Linked DNA regions of Homo sapiens: regions 2, 3 and 4 are each linked to region 1. Evidence: promoter capture Hi-C in 16 types of primary human blood cells and fetal thymus (Javierre and others, 2016). All regions are on one chromosome and are shown on one strand. The core of a region is centred on a gene start or on the middle of the fragment in contact, and the rest is flanking DNA. Distances in the headings are between cores, read along the strand shown. Region 1 holds the start of OTOG (otogelin). Region 2 overlaps SERGEF (secretion regulating guanine nucleotide exchange factor). Region 3 overlaps PIK3C2A (phosphatidylinositol-4-phosphate 3-kinase catalytic subunit type 2 alpha). Region 4 has its middle 33 kb from the start of NUCB2.

Region 1 (3,398 bases), core at 365-2,864:
GGTGGCACACACCTATAGTCCTAGCTACTCAGGTAACGGAGGCACCAGGATCACTTGAGCCCAGGAAGTTGAGGCTGCAGTGAACTATGATTATGCGACTGCACTCCAGCCTGTGTCACAGAGCAAGACCCCGACTCAAAAAAAGAAAAAAAAAGGCTCAAAGGATGAGTTCAGGGCTCTGCTTCTCAACCAAACCTTCCTTGCAACTTCCACCAGGTGGCCTAGTTTTTGTCTTGCCTGCATTCTTGAGGCTCCGCTCAGGGTATGGAGAGGAGCCTCTGACAGGGTTGAGGGCCTTCGCAGGCCAGTCAGGGAAAAGAGAACTCCATTCTTCTAAACGTCCATCTTTCTACTTTTACCTGCCAGAAGGGAGAGCTCAGCTCTCTCCTGAAAGAGCCCTGGTGCCCACCTCTCCTAAAAAAAAAAAAAAAAAAAAAAAAAAAAAAAAAAAAAAGAGTGGACTATAGACCCCCAAGAGATTAAAAAGAATAGAAGGGTTTTATGAACTTGCACACCTCAGACACATACCAGGAATCTGCTTGTTCCTTTCTGAACAACTCCAGAGACCCCTCCTGTAACCTACAGAGCTCCCTGCCAGCCTCAGATCCAGATAGACATGAGCTCCTGCTCAATGAAGCCCCCTCCCAAGACCTCCCTTACCTGGCCTCCCACGACTGTAGCCTTGTCCCCCATGGCAAGGGTCGCCTCCTGGTGGCTGCTGCTGGAGGAAACACGAGTCTGGCATGGATGGGGGGCTAGGATGGGTTATGCCTCCCCGCAGTCCCCTGGCCTATCCCACCCTAAGTGCTAAAGCCCTGGGGTCGCTGATGCCAGAAATACGGATGGGAGCTGTGGGTGGGGCCGCCACAGCTCACACCTACTCACCTGGGTTGCCCGGCTGGCTCTGGCTGTGGCTCTGCACTGCCCCACAGAACGGGTGCTGCGGCTGGGGAGGGGGATTATTCTCCACTCAAATTGTGCTTGTCTTTACTGGGGCCTCCCACCACCTGGCCCCCACTGCTAGAAAGCCTCTCCCACGCCACTGAGCATTCCCCCATTCTCCCTCCCTGCAGCCTTCTCAAATCCTTTCTCTCCCTTCCTGATGACCCTTCTCCAGCCAGGATCTCCCTGTTTACTCTCAGTCTTTGGCCCCCAGCTCTCTCTAGTTCCCCACCTCGGGTCTCTTCCACCCAGCCTAACTTTGGACTCTTTCCCCCGCGGTCATAGGCCTGCCTCTGTTGGCTTCGGGGTCCCTCCTCCCCTGACTGCTCCTCCTGGGTGTCCCTCTGCTCTCCCTCAAACCTCTCTTTCCTCCCTCTCTCCAACCTGCGCGGGCCCATTCCTCATTCCTTTAACGTTTCTCATTCCTCGAGCCCCCGACCTCCCTGAGTCCACAACCCTCTCACCGAGGCGCTGCACCCGCAGGGACTCGGCTGCCTGCTCACCCCAGGGCAGCCAGACACAAAGCAGCCAGCAGAGCGCAGACGCCAGGACTCCCATAGGGACACGAGGGGACCGGAGGACTTGAGCGCAGGGCCAGCCTCCCGAGGTGCCTCCCCGGGCTAAGGCAGGGTCACACCTCCACTCCGCAGCCGAGGTCCCTCTTGTTCTCATGCCCCAGGGCTCCCTCAGCCCCTCCTCCCAGGCTCTCAGCTCCTCCCCGAACTAGAGTGACAGGAGTACCCAGCTTATTACCATAATTTAGGCGCCTGTCCATAGCCTAGCCTCTGCTTTTCTTGGCCTGTGGCCACACCTCCCCAGGGGAGGCTGGATTCAGATTACTCAGCCCTAAATTGTCTAGGGAAGCATAGAGGCAGCCTATGCAACCTCCAGCTCCCCTTACCTGGGTCCTGGAAGCCCAATACCAGAGACGCAAGATGCAGGTATGAGTCTGGCCCTATCCTCTCCTTTTACAGAGGGCCATGCTGAGGCCCTGGGACATGCCACTCAGGGATCAGTGGTCAATAACAGAGCCTGCAGAGTCCTAGCCTATGTTCTCACCATGCCCCACCTCAGCTTCCACCTGGGTCTCCACATCCGTATCCTATGACCAGTTTTGAGCACCTCTAGGGAATGGATCATGCCTTAGTCCTCTGAATGCCCAGCACCAGCTCCTGCCCGAGCTCAGGAAATGACGATTGAATAATAAAAGTGTTTCATACTCCTATGTTATTGCCACCATCAAGGCCAAACTTTGACAAAACAACTTTATATGTGTGAACGAGGTCCACTGTCTGCCCAGGAGGAATTTTAAAATGGCAAAAACATGGGACTGAGCACCTGGGGAATCTGTACATCATTCACTTCGTCATCACTTAGGGAACACCAACTAGATGCTAGGTCTTACAGAGGATGATGATGATGGTGGTGGTGGTGGTCGTGGTGGTATTGGCCCCAGTAGACTTCTAGGCAAGGGTATAGATTTGAGATGCATTCATTCATTCATTCATTCATTCATTCACTCAACAAATTTGTTTGGCATTGATTCCATGCCATGCACTGTTCTAGGCATATAGTGGTAAATAAAGCAAACACAGCTATCTTCACACAGGAGGAAGCTGGGGGCACAGATAGGAAGATGAAGAGGAAAGAGCTAAGGATGGAGCCTTAAGGAATGCTGGTTAAGGAACAGGCAAAGACTGATTGTCTCCAAGGAAGCTTGAAACAAAAATTCATGAGAGAGGAGAACCAGGTCTCAATGCTATTCTCAAAACAAAGCAGGGGGCATTTTAAGGTGGAGGGAGTCTGTGGGGGTAATGGCCAATGTAAAATAAGGATTGGTGTGGCAGGTGAACAGCATTCCCCTGGATAAGGACATTCATTCACCTCTGCCAGGATTCTAAATACAAAATAAACAGCCATATGACATTCTTTTCCAATGTAGAGAATCAATGAAGTAAGTCGGAGGGGAATGCATTTTGTGTGGCCTTTTCTGGACCATTCAAAAATCCCACAAGTCTTTCCATTTTATCGCTGACTTAATAGTTAATGCTAAGGTGAGAAAACAGATCATATTTTAAGGTTCTTCTCCAAGAGGGATTTACATCTTAAACTAGGCAACAAAAATAGTGTGCTTGTAAAACTTCAGCTATTGGGGAGAGGGACGCAGAGGGGTGTTTAGGTGCCCCAGAGTTACAATTGTAAGTGGTTACCTGATGTAAGCTGCTGTCCATCTCCTTGCCCCTGCCCTTGACAGGGCACAAAGGGCTCAGGTGCCTCCCTGGGTTAAGTTCAGGCACAAGCCCCATACTTAGCCTCTGATTTACACATTTTTATCACCCCTCTCCTAGCCCCTCTTTCCTTTCATCTCTTTCCAGGCCTGGTTCATCATTGTCTTTGATGAATCTTTCCTTTCATTCCTTTCCAGGCCTGGTTCATCATTGTCTTTGCACCAAGCA
Region 2 (3,398 bases), core at 301-2,800, 430 kb before region 1:
TGTATTTCCAGTTAATTTCTGCAAGCAGTGCTCAGCCTGTTCACGTGCCATGCCTTACTATTTCTTGAGGTTTGCGAGGAATCCTGGCAGTTTTTTCCCCACCTTCAAACAGCTTTGTTCCTTGGCTCTAGGCTGACTTTATTTTTGGTTTGCAGGTACCCACCAGCCCTAAGCATTGTGGCAAAGTGAAACCGTGTACTGGCCTGGGAACCAGGCAGCTCTGTGATCTTATGCAGGTTACCTTCTGTCTTTGAGAAGGGAGGTCATGTTCTCAGCTGCAGCTGTGTCATCTCTGCTAGAGAGATGAAGCGTTATCATTATATTTGGATTTTGTGTTTGGCTGTGAATACCCATTGATCTGTGGTCTAGAGAAGTGTAGCATGTGTGCACCTGAAGCAGAAGCAGGAGTCACCCTCTGAAGTGGGTGTATTCGACAAGGGGCTGGGCCTGCAGGGCCACCAGATGGCAGCAGTAGGCAGCCAGCTAGCCTTGGGATGAGGCTGGTAGAGTCATCATTCGGAATTAGTAAGGTCAGAGCTGAAAGGGCCCCTGGAGGTCACCCAGGCCTTCCCTGTTTTTGTATGGATGGGAGAACCTAGGCCCAGAAAGGGAAAGGGTCTTGCATAAGGACACACCCTGAGTTAATAGCTGATAGTCCTTGCTCTTAACAGGAACTGATATGGATCTGACCTCTAGCTGGCTGCCCCATGGAGATCCAGGGGACAAGGGCCAGTGAGCCAGCTGTGGGAGAGGACCTGGCAGTGGCAGTTAACTGTCTGCCTTTTTCCTGATTTCTTCAAGGGCCTGGTCTTAATGATTTTTCACCTTCTCACTCACAGCAAAAGCAATGTGCACATCTTTTCTGCTCGCCTCTGCCCTGTCCAGTTCTCCTCCTCAGTTCTCTGGACCAAGGCTTCCCATCACACTGTGCAATGGATAGAATTAGGGGTCATCTCTTAAGTCCTATACCCCACAGATGGGCAGGCCCAGGGCCTTGCCAGAGACATGCTGAAGACATGAGTTAGCACAATTGGTTGAATAAGAACATTTTTTTTTTTTTAATTTCCAAGGGGATCAGGTTAGGGCAGGGAGCCAGTGTTTGCCAAGTACTTACTATGTACTAGGTGCTCTGCCAGGTACTGCTCTACAGCCTGAGGGTAATACTGCTGTAGCCCCTTAAGGTAGGGTTCATTTCCCTTCATTCTAGGTGAGGATTGAGGCTCAGAGAGGCTAAGTGGCTTGTATAAAGTACCATAGCTAGTTAGAAAGCAAAGCAGACACTTGAATCCTGCTGTGTTTGATATCAAAGCTTATTTTATTTCATCATGCCACTTCCTCTCAAGGTGACCTTATGGGAAATGTAGCAATTGACTATCTTATTCCATTCAGGCTGCTATACCAAGTGATATAGACTGGGTGGCTTATAAACAATAGAAACCTATGTCTTACAGTTCTGGAGGCTGGGAAGTCCTAATCAAAATACCAGAAGATTTGGTGTCTGGTGATGACCTGCCTCCTGGTTCATAGACTCTCACCTTTTTGCTGTGCCTCACATGGCAGAAGAAGTAAAGGAGCTCTCTGGGGTTTCTTTTATAAGGCCAATGATCCCATTCATGAGGGCCCTACCTTCATGACCTCATCACCTCCCACAGGCCTTGTCTCCATAATATTAAGGGTTAGGATTTCAACATATGAATTTGATGGGGACACAACCATTCAGTCTGTAGCAGCCCTTTAGGCTTTAGGGAGGGGGCAACAGATATTTTGTCTCTCCTTCCTGGAGAAAGCTTCTGGGGGAGTTATGGTGGTGAACTGCCAGAGGGAGGAGGCCTTTGAAGCAGGAAAGGGCAGGTATTTATTGGAGCAGGTTAGGGAGTGGTGGCTGGTGGTATAAAGCCCACTGAGAAATGGTTAAATACCTTTCCCCTCTGTGCCTGTGTTCTAGCAGTTCTTTCTTCCAGGAATGCTCGTCTCTGTGATTCCTGCATAGCTACTGCCTCACTTCCATTGGTTCTTGTCCAAATGTCACCTCTTACACTCTATTCCCTTCACTGTGTTATTTTTCATTATAGCAGTTTTCATTGCCTGAAACCATAGTGTCATTATATGTTTACTTATTTGTTGTCATTCTCTCCTAACCGAATGTGAGCCCCACAAGGTTAGGGACTTGGTCTGCTTTATTCATCCCTGGATTTCTCCAACTATAGACGAGAGACTCGAGTGCTGGTGGCATGGGATGGGTAGAACTTTTGGATGTGGAAGTGATGCTATTTCCAATGGCTGTGTTCAGGAGATACAGCCTGTAGCTGGCCCTGCCCTCTTCCTACCTTCTTGGAGAAGCCCAGGCCACAGAGCCTCAGCTCCCTGAGGCTGACAGTGATGCCTGATGCCCCAGCGTTTTAAGACCAGCTTTGCTCCTGCCTATCTGCAAGGCCTTGCCTTGAGACCTTGGCTTCCCCATCTGTCCATAGTGAGTGGGGTGACCAGCCATGCTGCAAGCTCACCAGATGGTTCTGGGAAGGGTGTAGAGGTCCCTGGCAGAGAGCTCAGTTTCCATTCAAAGAATCTTCCTCTTTCCTGATGGAGATTGATTTGTTCCAGGAGCTCTCTAAAAGTAAGCATTTAGTTACTGGCCTGTAATTTTGCCATCATTTTTAGGTTTTTGGCAGATGGCACTCTGCTTGCCCTTTCTCAGGGGACCTTGCCTATCCCATGGGTGCTCTCAATAATCACAGTGACAGCCAGGCACGGTGGCTCACTCATGTAATCCCAGCACTTTGGGAGGCCAAGGCGGGTGGATCACGAGGTCAGGAGTTTGAGACCAGCCTGGCCAATATGGTGAAATCCCATCTCTGCTAAAAAAAAAAAAAAAAAAAAAAAATGAAAATTAGCCGAGGTGGTGGTGCATGCCTGTAGTCCCATCTACTCGGGAGGCTGAGGCAAGAGAATCACTTGAACCCTGGAGGCAGAGGTTGCAGAGAGCCAAGATCACACCACTGCACTCTAGCCTGGGCGACAGAGTGAGTCTCCGTCTCAAAAATAAATAAATAAATAATCATAGACCAGTACCTTAAAGTGCTCTCAATGTGAGCCAAGGTGAAAGCAGCCCATTCTGAGGAATATTGGAGGAATCAACTCTTGCCCAATCAGAGAGTGACTTTTTACCTCAGGAGGAAGCTTAATGTGGCCAAAAGAACCCTGAAGAGCTAGGTGTAAGTTCTGATTTGGCTATTTGTTGGCTGTGTGATCTTGGGCAAGTCATTGGGCCTGAACTTCCTCACCTGTAAAATGAGGGCCTTAATTCCTAATTTGTCTGCTTCACAGGGGTGTCTTATATCCTTTACTCATTCACAATTCCTCCCTTTATTCCTTCACTCATTTGTTCAACAAATATTTGT
Region 3 (3,398 bases), core at 670-3,169, 390 kb after region 1:
ACCTCAGCCTCCCAAAGTGCTGGGATGACAGATGTGAGCCACTGCGCCCGGCCCAGAATGGATTTTTGTATGAAAAAGTTCTAAGCCTTCTTGTTAGTGCTAAGATTTCATTTTGTTTGTGTACAGGAAGATAAAGTTTGGTTTTATGTAGACCAAAATAGGGAGATAAACTGAACACTGGTAATAGGCTGACTTTGGAAATCCATGGCACAATTCATTGGCACGGAGCTTTTAATTTTTCACACACCATTCATCTCTACTTACAAACTTTTCCCTGATATTTTTTATTGGAAAATAATATTGCAATGCCTATTCTTTATAATTACTTCACATGCTTAAGTGTTCATTTCCTGTAAGAATTTTGTGCTTTGTGGTAAAAACTCAACACAGAGGGTATTTTTCTTCTCACTCAGCAAGCTTACTTCCTGTTTCCATCTAGTGTCCTTTGTTTTATTAATAATAACCTAAATACATTAGTTCCAATTTTTTGTGACCAAAACCAGTAAAAGACATAATACTTAAAACTGTCTTCTGGAAATTTAAGTTTAAATCAGGCTTTTAGTTAATAGCTGTGAATTTAACTACTTTGAGCAGATTTCAAAGAATTTTATAATAGATCAAATTATTGTCATAGAGGTGGCTTTGCAAAGTTCTTTGGTTGTAAACTCTTTCTAAAAGTTAATTGTATTAACATTTTAAACATATCCCCATTGGCAAAATGTCTATTATTAATTTTAAAGAAGAGCAAAAGTTAAACAAAATGTGATTTTCATAGTCTGACTGAGTATATTTGAACAGTAAATATAAGTTTCTTTGGGAAAAAGTCCAATTAAGGATGTAACCAACTTTCTTCTGAAAAGTAATATGTATTTAATGTTTAAAGTGCATTTATTGAAAACTTGGTGTTGTGTTCCATATAATTTCTGGGTAATGTGGCATGAACCTTGAACTTGTATAGGTATAAATCTTCCCCATATTCTTGTAACTACTTTACAGAGTATTAATGATAAATTTTTGTGAATTATTTTAAACCTTCACCACTTTCCTTAAACCTCCAAACTCACCTCTGCCAACTCTCTACCATTTTTTTTCTTTTAAATTGAGGTCAAGGCCATCCATGTGTGAACTGCTCACCTCACATTTCCCTCATCTTTCTGGTTTGAAAGGAAGAGATGTTCCTTCCCTTTTCCAAAACTTAACTGTTTTTTTTGTTCCTGTTTGTTCCTGTCTTCCCCAAAGTTATTACTGTTTGTTTGTTTGTTTTGTTTTGGTTTGGTTTTGTTAAGGCAGGGTCTTGCTCTGTCATCCAGGCTAGAGTGTAATGGTGCAACCTCGGCTAACTGCAACCTCTGTCTCCTGGGTTCGAGCCATCCTCCTGCCTCAACCTCCTGAGTAGCTGGGACTACAGGGGCATGCCATCATACCTAGCTAAGTTTTGTATATTGTGTAGAGATGGGGTTTCACTATGTTGCCTAGGCTGGTCTCCATCTCCTGGACTAGAGCTATCCACCTGCCTCCCAAAGTGCTAGGATTACAGATATGAGCTACCACACCTGTCCTTAAAGTTATTACTCTTTAAAAAGGAATTTGTACTCACTGCCTTTCCAGTCTCTTGCTCTCCTTCTGTTATTCCCATTATGTTATAGAATTGCCAATCCCTCGACCATATTCACCATTTAGCCCTTTTGCTTATTTTTTAAAAATTGACTACATCCTTTTCTTGAAACTTCTGTTGCCCTGGGTAAATCTACTTCCTATTTTTCTTCCTGTGATTTTTGACTCCTTTTTCTTTGTCTAGCCTTTAAACATAGGCATTCCTCCAAAGGTTTTGTTCTTGGTTGTTTTTAATAATGCTTTACTTGTTTTCCCTTGGCCAGTGCTTTATTCTTGAGGCTCCAATTTACTTAAATTGAAAGCTACTGATCTAGACCCTTGTAGTAATGTGACTCCTTGGCTGTCTATGCTCGAGATGCTGTGATGGTTAATTTTATGTTTCAGCTTGACTAGGCCATGAGGTGTCCAGATATCTGATCAGACATTATTCTGGGTATTTCTATGAGCGTGTTTTTGGGTCAGATTAATGTTTGAATTGGTCAGCTGGATAAAGCAAATTCCCTGCTTAATGTGAGTGAGCCTCATCCAATTAGTTGAAGGCCTGCAGAATGACCCTCCCAAAAGTAAGGGGGAAACTCCTCCTGCTTGACTGCTTTGAAGCTGGAACATCAATTTTTTTCCTACCTTTGGACTAAAACAGAAGCATTGGCCCTTCCTGCGTTCTGCAACTGCACCATTGCTCTCCTTTGTCTCCAGCTTGCCAGCTGCAGATCTGGAGACTTGTCAGCTCATAATTGCATAAGCCATTCCATATATACGAAAATAAAGAGATGTCCCAGTTCTGTGCCTCACAGATACAGGCCCTTATGTCTCCTTTAGCTTCCCAAAGAGACTGTTTCCTCTTAATGGAGCTTGACCCAAAGACTACTGACTGAGAATTTGCTGTCTCAGTGATCCTGATGGATGCTGACAGCAGTTAACAGAGAGAGTGAGTTCCCTGTAAAAAATTACAGAAATTGGATGATCACTAAATCTTTGTTTCTAGCTCTGGAATAGAATATTTCTGGAGTAGAACATTTCTAGACGATGACCTAAACATCTACATGGATTTTCAAACACAACATATTTACTAGAGAACTTTGTATCTTCCCCTGCAAACTTCTTTCTTTGTTCCAGGTATTGGCTAATGCATTGGCAGTGTTTTCTTATTGATTATCATATATCTCTTTCATTTGTTAAAAAATGTGTGTGGTTATACAGTGTGAGGATTGCACATACTAATCATTTGTGGACTTCACCATTAAAGAACTTGGGCTAGAAAGGGGAGACAAGATGTGAATGTGTATAAATGCAGTACAAAATAGAAAGTCTTGAGTGCCACAGAAGAAAAGTCTGTGCAAGATCCATGGAGAAAAGAGATGATTTGATGCTTTGGTTTGTTTGTGTGGAGTTTGGAAGTGGGGTGGGAGTATGGGTGAAGGGAATAGGTGTAAAATATATGTATTTTTTATTCCAGAAAGAGCAGAGGGAAAAACCCAAAACTGTTAATGTTTGAGGTGAAATATTGGCAGCCTAGCTATTTTTTACCCTTTACAGACTTTAACATTTGAGTTAACTTTCCAGATTCTATTATTACCTTGATGTGTGACTAGATAATTATTATATTCAGTTTTTGTTAATTCAAACTCGTAACTTGAATAAAAGGAAAGACCTAATTCACGAGAGACACAGCAAAAAATACAACTATTATTATTTTTTTTAAATCCTAAAATGCCACCTAAGGAGATTCAGAATCTGTTTTTAAAATAAGTAAAACATGAAGAACAGTTCTTCAGGGAAAGATG
Region 4 (3,398 bases), core at 440-2,939, 300 kb after region 1:
AGAGGATTTTCTGGGCCCTCCTTTTATCATTAGCTTTGGATTTAAGCTGTTTAGTGCATCAGAATGGCTGAGGCTGGCATGTGCTTGGAATATGAGTATCTGCCATTTTCAGCTTGTAGAGTGGGAAGTGACTCTGCCTCTTTCAAGTCTCACCAAGATTCTCCTAACCTAAGAAGTGAGCTTAGAAGCTGAGCAGCCAATGGCCAGGTGTAGTGGCTGACACCTGTAATCCCAACTTTTGGGATGCCAAGGCGGGCGGATCACCTGAGGTCAGGAGTTCGAGACCAGCCTGGACAACATGATGAAACCCGTCTCTACTGAAAAAAAAGAAAAAAAAAAAAAGCCGGATGTGGTGGCCCGCACCTGTAGTCCCAGCTTCTCAGGAGGATGAGGCTGGAGAATCACTTGAACCCAGGAGCCGCAGGTTGCAGTGAGCTGAGATTGTACCACTGCACTCCAGCCTGGGTGACAGAGCGAGACTCCTGTCTCAAAAAAAAAAAAAAAAAAAAAAAAGAAGCTGAGCAGCAAAGGGAGAAATGCCCACTCTTACCACTTCCTTTGTAGTCCTTTCTCAAGGAGAAAGTGAAGCTTGGTGGTTAGGAGCATAGAATCAGGAGCAAACCGCCTAGGCTCTGCTCCTTACTAGCCATATGTCCTCAGGCAATTTACTTATCTCTCTGTGCCTCAGTTTCCTCATTTGTAAAATAGAGATAATAGGTTACTTACCATAGAGTTCTTAAAATGATTAAATGACTTAATATTTATTTGCAAGTACTTATAACAGTGCCTGGCACTACTAAGCGTTATATAAATATTACATAAATATAGAAATCATAGAAATTTTTAAATGAGTCATTTTGTCATGCAGTTTATCCCTTTTCTAGTAATATGTTCAGATACACTAATGTTAAATATATAATAACTTTAAAACTTTCTCAAAGGAAGAAGGGTGGGGAGGGATATAATATATTTAGAAAACACAGATGGGGTTTCTTTTCTCTACAGTTCCCTTCCTCATCCCCGAGTTGTGTGGAACTATGGTTGAGGATACCTGACATTTCTACTCATGTGCCTATGCACAGGACTGATTTATGTTTGGCTACTATTATAAGATCTCCTTCCATACCTGCCTTGTCTTCCGGAGATGCCCCTCCCTAATGCTTGAGCCAACTCCTTTGCCTCAGTCCTGCTCCCAGGCCCTACACTCATGGGATGATCTCCAAGGTGCAGAATACCTGCCTTGCTAACTACACAGATGGGCCAGGCATGGTCTCTGCTCACAGGTCACTCGTATACCAAGAGGATCAGTACTGCTTGGTCTTGAAAACAGGCATTTTTGCTGTGTATGAGAACTTGACCTGCTTTCATGTGGTTCCCTAGAAATAATTACATCCACACTTCTGACCACAATCAGTTACTTATGACTTATATTAAGCCACCCAGGGAAATAATCATTTCCTTAGAAGAAGTTATGTTATGACCAGCCTGGCCAACATGGTGAAACCCTGTCTCTACTAAAAGTACAAAAATTAGCTGGGCATGGTGGTGCATGCCTGTAATCCCAGCTACTCGGGAGGCTGAGGCAGGAGAATCATTTGAACCCAGGAGGCAGATGTTGCAGTGAGCTGAGATCGTGCCACTGCACTCCAGCCTGGGTGACAGAATGAGAACCTGTCTCAAAAAAAAAAAAAAAAAAAAAAAGAAAGAAGAAGTTATGTTAGCTTAATGTTTTATGTAGTTTATGTTTATTTTGGTTACAATTTCATACATATAGCAGGAAAGCTCATCTCTGGAAAGAATTTCAAGCCGCATGACATTATGGAAAATGCTCCTGTCCTGGAAGTCAGACACCTTGGAGTTTAATCCTAGCTCTGCTTCTGTGTAACCAGGGGAGAGTTGCTTCACCTCTTGGGTCCGCTCTTATTTTTCGATGCTCTTTTTGATGGTAAATAGTTTTTGATGCTCTCAAAATCAAAAGCAGGCTTTTACTGAATCAATGAAATGTGGGGACTAGGTACCAGCTAGTCCAATCCCTCATTTTTTTTTAACTCAATGTTTTGTTTTGTTTGTTTGTTTTTATTATTATTATACTTTAAGTTTTAGGGTACATATGCACAACGTGCAGGTTTGTTACATATGTATACATGTGCCATGTTGGTGTGCTGCACCCATTAACTCGTCATTTAACATTAGGTATATCTCCTAACACTATCCCTCCCCGCTCCCTCCACCCCACAACCGTCCCCAGTGTGCGATGTTCCCCTTCCTGTGTCCATGTGTTCTCATTGTTCAATTCCCACCTATGAGTGAGAACATGCGGTGTTTGGTTTTTTGTCCTTGCGGTAGTTTGCTGAGAATGATGGTTTCCAGCTTCATCCATGTCCCTACAAAGGACATGAATTCATCCTTTTTTATGGCTGCATAGTATTCCATGGTGTCTATGTGCCACATTTTCTTAATCCAGTCTATCATTGTGGCACTATTCACAATAGCAAAGACTTGGAACCAATCCCTCATTTTACAGGGAAGAAAAGGGAGGCTAATGTTGATAAACTGGTTCACCATGGTCAGACATCTAGCTGAAATCAAAGTGAAGACTATGTGATGAAGAATTATTCTTTGTTGCTTGCTAGGCCCCAAGCCATTGTGTGCCTGTTGGTTATTATGAAGCAGCCAACAATATTATGCTTAGCTTATTACACAGTTTTCCCCCTTTATTTAGACAGTTCCCTTTGAAGAAAAGAAAGCCCTTGGATTTGTTGTGATTTGCTTTGAGGGATTACAAGCTTTTATCTTAAGTGTTTTGTAATAATTAAAACTTTGAACAGCTTTAAGCATTATTTGGGGGATACAAAAAATTGAGTAAAACTTTCTGAGATGAAAATTTTCTGTTTTATAATTCAATAAGACATTTAGCTTGCAGGAAAAGGGAATATTAAAATGCCTTCATTTGGATTTAAGAATTATAACAGGATTTCCTTTGTGAGAGGAAAAACCACAGTGGCAAGTTTGAGGACTTGAAGGATTTTATTTTTGTAATTAAGTGATAGTTTATTAGCACAGTGGTAATTGTTTCTTCTGACACATTGTACTTTATTCTCATATAACACCATTCATCTAAAGATTACAGATGAATTTTAATCTTGTCTATAACTAAGTTTCACATAATCCATTCATTTTCTTTCTTTTTTAAATTATTTTTTATTTTTTAGACACTGTCGCTCTGTTGCCCCAGGCTGGAGTGCAGTGGCATGATCTCAGCCCACTGCAACCTCTCCCTCCAGGTTCAAGCAATTCTCCTGCCTCAGCCTCCCAAGTAGCTGGGATTAAAAGCATTTGCCGTGACGCCTGGCTAATTTTTGAATTTTTAGTAGAGACAGGGTTTCACTATGTCGGCC

What was found. The method cuts DNA at HindIII sites, captures the fragments that hold promoters and counts their contacts. A CHiCAGO score of 5 or more calls a contact.
Region 2: a contact is called between a fragment that was not itself captured here and the fragment with the promoter of OTOG in region 1, in 2 of 17 cell types (M1 macrophages and M2 macrophages). The highest score is 5.6, in M1 macrophages.
Region 3: a fragment that was not itself captured here is called in contact with the fragment with the promoter of OTOG in region 1 in 1 of 17 cell types (naive CD4 T cells); the score reaches 5.1 in naive CD4 T cells.
Region 4: a contact is called between a fragment that was not itself captured here and the fragment with the promoter of OTOG in region 1, in 1 of 17 cell types (M2 macrophages). The highest score is 5.1, in M2 macrophages.

The regions. Positions count from the first base shown.
Region 1 is chr11:17,545,475-17,548,872 of GRCh38, reverse strand. OTOG (otogelin) reads right to left here and starts at 1,614. Exons shown (of 56, transcript NM_001292063.2): 1 at 1,407-1,614; 2 at 886-946; 3 at 661-721. The coding sequence starts at 1,500. The HindIII fragment of the contact is 7,774 bases long and covers 1-2,660 here.
Region 2 is chr11:17,975,941-17,979,338 of GRCh38, reverse strand. All of the region lies in intron 8 of SERGEF (secretion regulating guanine nucleotide exchange factor), which reads left to right. Among named protein-coding and RNA genes, the nearest start is that of SERGEF, 35 kb to the left of the region's middle. The HindIII fragment of the contact is 478 bases long and covers 1,312-1,789 here.
Region 3 is chr11:17,158,709-17,162,106 of GRCh38, reverse strand. All of the region lies in intron 2 of PIK3C2A (phosphatidylinositol-4-phosphate 3-kinase catalytic subunit type 2 alpha), which reads left to right. Among named protein-coding and RNA genes, the nearest start is that of PIK3C2A, 48 kb to the left of the region's middle. The HindIII fragment of the contact is 3,000 bases long and covers 420-3,398 here.
Region 4 is chr11:17,242,180-17,245,577 of GRCh38, reverse strand. No RefSeq gene overlaps it. Among named protein-coding and RNA genes, the nearest start is that of NUCB2, 33 kb to the left of the region's middle. The HindIII fragment of the contact is 2,198 bases long and covers 591-2,788 here.